2 separate regions of the Homo sapiens genome follow, and region 2 is linked to region 1. Evidence: promoter capture Hi-C in human tissues and cell types (Jung and others, 2019). All regions are on one chromosome and are shown on one strand. The core of a region is centred on a gene start or on the middle of the fragment in contact, and the rest is flanking DNA. Distances in the headings are between cores, read along the strand shown. Region 1 holds the start of SULT1E1 (sulfotransferase family 1E member 1). Region 2 has its middle 46 kb from the start of UGT2B17.

Region 1 (2,700 bases), core at 45-2,544:
AAGTAAAATGAAAATCTAAATTTGGGTCCCTGGTTACTCCTTTTCTACCTTAATTTTCTATTATGAAAAGCCCCATTTTTCAGAAACCACTTAACACCTCTTATTTTGCATAAGGCTAGATATTGCTTTCTATAACAACTATAGCCCCCTTAACTTCTTATATTTCTTGAATAAATCAGCCACTTTTATTCAGTAAATACATATTCAATGCCTAGCCTACTAGATGCCAGAAAAAAATGCTAATTACAGAGTAAGACCCTGTTTTCAAGCTATTTATAATTTAAAAAGTACTCTGGACAAGCAAACATTGATTTACAACACAGTAAAATAAATACTAGTTAGGAGAAAGTTCAAAGTTTAAAAGTCACTAAGAGAAACATAGAGTCTTGTAAGAGTGAGCCTCTCAAAGGAAATGTAATCTAACAGTAATTAATAGAGAAATAAGAAATAACAGGGTTGGAGGTGTTGATGGGGTGGAGCAAAGGATAATTTTCTTAAGTGACAGAGTAGGTGCAGAAAAATGAAAAGAAAGGTAATGCATTTGTGGATTCCACAAACCCTTGGCCATTTATTTTTCTAATTCTCTTGTGTAAATTCCAAGTGTTGGTAGCTATCATTACCTGAAAAATTCACAGTATGCTATTTTGTGGTTGGGAGCAGAGAGAAGTCAGGTTTCTAAAATAATAATCGAAAGGTGAGTGATGTTTACATTCTTTCTTTAGCTGTCATCTGCTTTTTAAAATTTTCAGGTCTGCTTAAGAGTTAAAGGCAAAGAGTTTAAATAGGTGTTTTCCAATTGACATGTTAAGATACAACCCAATGACTTCTTTGGCAGGTCTTAATAAACTGAGCTAGGTCTGATTGAGGGTCCTTGCTGTCTTATTTCTTTCCTCATTGGCTTCTCTTTCTTCACTCCAATAAGTTTATTCTTTTGAAAGTTAACCATAGTCATGCTATTATTTGTCAATGAGTGAATAAGGGATTCTCCCTTCCCAGTCTCTCTTCCCAGGCCTCTTCTTTCTCATCTTTTCCTTTTCTCCCTCCTTCTTCCCCAACCCCTGACGGCAGACTTGGGAATTTGAATATGAGCCAAATAATTAAAAAAATAACAGCAGGATATTTCTACATCTCCATGAATGAACATGACTCTGTGTGGTTACTGCAGCTGCAGGTATGCATTTACATCTACATTAACTATTGCATCATGGACTTCATGAAGCCAAGCCCCCAAATTAATCTCCACCTCCTTCTCTGGCATTCAGGATATAAACTCACCAGAAACATTCCAAATGCAGAAGTGGTTCTCATCTTTTTTTGCAGCTTAAGATCTGCCTTGGTATTTGAAGAGATATAAACTAGATCAATTTCTTTCACAGGATCAACTAAACAGGTTGTACTTTTTTATTATTAATATCAATACTTAGATTTTAGATATATAAAATATAGAATGAAAATTATGTATTACAAAGCTCTTAAAAATAAAATATACAAAGACCAAAGTCTTGATTGATACTTTAGTTAATTAATGATGTGAAGCATTTAAAACCTTTTAAAATAATTTGTTGTTAAAAATAATATTTTACATTTATGTAGTATTTTGTTGCTTATTGCTTTAATGTAAAATTACAGTACCATTGCTATCTTAAAAGTGCTGAATGCTGGACGTGTTCTCCATTTTACCAATGAGAAAATAAAGCAAGCAGGGTAGAAGGAGGTAGAATAGAGATTGACTTTTAGTTTTGTGTTCCTGTGATAAGGGGTCTTGCAAATAGGGGCATTACTTTCATGTAAGAAACTTCAGATAAATATGACAGAAATCCAAAGTCCTTGGTAAATAATTAATATGTAGGTCATTGACATATATTGCCTTTTAAATCTGTGAATCCTTACTTAGTAGAAACTAGAGAGCTTCTTGATCTAATAATTGAACTTAACAAATATTTCTGAACATCTACTTTGTGTCATAGTGCTGGAGATTGGGATAGAAACATGTACAAAAGTCACTTTGCCCTCATACAGGTAAATCTAAGAAAGTAGGGACTATGAGAACCCTATGTATCTATATCCACCATAGTATTCTAGCACTGACTACAGGGCCTAGGAAAAGGGTAGGCATTCACATAGGGAGTATTTGCTGGATAAAAGGCAGGTTGGAAGATGCAGGAGGGGAGTATGCAGAAAGAAAGGAAGAAAGAGAGGAAGGAGAGCGGGAAGGAAAAACACTTTCTGAGTTTAATTGAATTTATAAGTCACAATTTTAACAACTTTTTTGATGTTTATTTCTGAACAACTGACCTACATACTCAGAATAAAAAATTGACAATTTCTAACTGAAATAGATCTTTTGAGAAAATGGGGATCACATAGGAAGTAAATCCATACATTGTAATATGAGACAATTTACCAAAAGGAATAGAATGAGAAAAGATATTTTATTACATGCCACCTACTTTGCCTCTCAGACCAAAATTGACTATGAAGGAGTAGCTGGAAGTCAGCCAACCACTTAATGATAAATCTACCACTCCCAGCTGACTATAAGCCAATTCTTATAAACTTGGCTGAACACCAAGAAAGTAATTCACATGAGTAAGCAAACCAATAGGCAGGACAAATCGTGGTGCATTTTATACACATTTCTTCTAGTGAAAGATCTATTTTCTGAGACTAAGGAGAAGGCTTGGGGAACAAGTGATTTAT
Region 2 (2,700 bases), core at 62-2,561, 1.2 Mb after region 1:
CTCCTCATAAGTGAGTACATGCAGCATTTGGTTTTCTGTTCCTGTGTTAGTTTGCTAAGGATGATGGTCTCCAGCTCCATCCATGTGCCTGCAAAGTACATGATCTCAGTCTTTTTTATGGCTGCATAGTATTCCATGGTGTATATGTACCATATATTCTTTATCCAGTCTACCACTGATGGGCATTTAGGTGATTCCATATCTTTCCTATTGTGAACAGTGCTGCAATGAACATAAATGTACATGTGTCTTTATGGTAGAATGATACATATTCCTTTGGGCATATATCCAGTAATAGGACTGCTGGGTCAAATGGTAGTTCTGCTTTTAGCTTTTTGAGTAATCACCACACCTCTTTCCACAATGGTTGAACTAATTTATACTTCCACCAACAGTGTATAAATGTTCCCTTTGCTCTGCAACCTCACCAGTATCTGCTATTTTTTGACTAATTATAGCCACTCTTACTTGTGTGAAATAGTATCTCACTGTGGTTTTGATTTGCATTTATCTAATGATCAGTGGTATCTCACTGTGGTTACAATTTGCATTTCCCTAATGATCAGTGATATTGACCTTTTTGTTCATATGCTTGTTGGCTGCTTGTATATCTTCCTTTGTAACGTGTCTATAGTGATGAACCAAGATGGCTGAACAGGAACGGCTCTGGTCTGCAGCTCCCAGCATGATCAATGCAGAAGATGGGTGATTTCTGCATTTTCAACTGAGGTACCTGGTTCATCTCACTGGGACTGGTTGGACAGTGGGTGCAGCCCACGGAAGGCAGGCTGAAGCTGGGCGGGGCATCGCCTCACCCCGGAGGTGCAAGGGGTTGGGGGATTTCCCTTTCCTAGCCAGGGGAAGCCATGACAGACTCTACCAGGAAAATCAGGACACTCCCACCTTAATACTGCACTTTTCCAATGGTCTCAGCAAATGACACACCCAGGAGATTACATCCCATGCCTGGCTCAGTGGGTCCCATGCCCATGGAGCCTTGCTCACTGCTAGCACAGCAGTCCAAGATCCAACTGCAAGGAGGCAGACTGGCTGGGGGAGGGGCATTCGCCATTGCTGAGGCTTGAGTAGGTAAACAAAGCAGCCAGGACGCTTGAACTGGGTGGAGCCCACCACAGCTCAAGGAGGCCTGCCTACCTCTGTAGACTCCACCTTTGCTGGCAGGGCATAGCTGAACAAAAGGCAGCAGAAGCTTCTGCAGACTTAAACATCCCTGTCTGACAGCTCTGAAGAGAGCAGTGGTTCTCCCACCATGGTGTTTGAGCTCTGAAATGGACAGACTGCCTCCTCAAGTGGGTCTCTGGCCCCTGGGTAGCCTAACTGGGAGACACTTCTGAGTAGGGGCCAACTGACACCTCATGCAGCCAGGTGCCCCTCTGAGATGAAGCTTCCAGAGGAAGGATCAGGCAGCAATGTTTGCTGTTCTACAATACTTGCTGTTGATCTTTTCAAAAAACCAGCTCCTGGATTCATTGATTTTTTTGAAGGGTTTTTTTGTGTGTCTCTATCTCCTTCAGTTCTGTTCTAATCTTAGGTATTGCTTGCCTTCTGCTAGCTTTTGAATGTGTTTACTCTTGCTTCTCTAGTTCTTTTAATTGTGATGTTAGGGTGTTGATTTTAGATTTTTCTTGCTTTCTTTTGTGGGCATTTAGTACTATAAATTTCCTTCTACACACTGCTTTAAAGGTGTCCCAGAGATTATGGTATATTGTGTCTTTGTTCTCATTGGTGTCAAAGAACATCTTTACTTCTGCCTGCATTTTGTTATTTACACAGTAGTCATGCAGGAGCAGGTTGTTGAGTTTCCATGTAGTTGTGTGGTTTTGAGTGAGTTTCTTAATCCTGAGTTCTAATTTCAGTGTACTGTGGTCTGAGAGACAGTTTGTTGTTATTTCTGTTCTTTTACATTTGTTGTGGAGGGCTTTACTTCCAACTATGTGGTCAGTTTTGGAACAAGTGTGATGTGGTTCCAAGAAGAATGCATATTCTGTTGACTTTTGGGTGGAGAGTTCTGTAGATGTCTATTAGGTCTGCTCGTTGCAGAGCTGAGTTCAAGTCCTGGATATCCTTGTTAACCTTCTGTTTCATGGATGTGTCTAATATTGACAGTGGGGTGTTAAAGTCTCCCTTTACTATCGTGTGGGAGCCTAAGTCTCTTTGTAGGTCTCCAAGGACTTGCCTTATGAATCTGGGTGCTCCTGTATTCAGTGCATATATATTTAGAATAGTTATCTCTTCTTGTTGAATTGATCCCTTTATCATTATGTAATGGCTTTCTTTGTCTCCTGATCTTTGTTGATTTAAAGTCTGTTTTATCAGAGACTAGGATTACAACCCCTGCTTTTTTTTGTTTTCCGTTTGGTTGTTAGATCTTCCTCCAACCCTTTATTTGAGCCTATGTGTGTCTCTGCACGTGAGATGGGTCTCCTGAATATAGCACACTGATGGGTCTGGACTCTATTCAATTTGCCGGTCTTTGTCTTTTAACTGGGGCATTTAGCCAATTTACCTTTAAGGTTAATATTGTTATGTGTGAATTTGATCCTGTCATTGTGATGTTAGCTGGTTATTTTGCCTGTTAGTTGATGCAGTTTCTTCCTAACATCAATGGTCTTTACAATTTGGCATGTTTTTGCAGTGGCTAGTACCAGTTGTTCCTTTCCATATTTAGTGCTTCCTTCA

The links. Contacts are between HindIII fragments. The study calls those that stand out against the background at their distance.
Region 2: a contact is called between a fragment that was not itself captured here and the fragment with the promoter of SULT1E1 in region 1, in 1 of the 25 tissues and cell types used here (dorsolateral prefrontal cortex).

What each region holds. Positions count from the first base shown.
Region 1 is chr4:69,858,739-69,861,438 of GRCh38, reverse strand. It overlaps SULT1E1 (sulfotransferase family 1E member 1), which reads left to right and starts at 1,294. Exons shown (of 8, transcript NM_005420.3): 1 at 1,294-1,390. The HindIII fragment of the contact is 19,346 bases long and covers 1-2,700 here.
Region 2 is chr4:68,620,751-68,623,450 of GRCh38, reverse strand. No RefSeq gene overlaps it. Among named protein-coding and RNA genes, the nearest start is that of UGT2B17, 46 kb to the right of the region's middle. The HindIII fragment of the contact is 5,524 bases long and covers 1-2,700 here.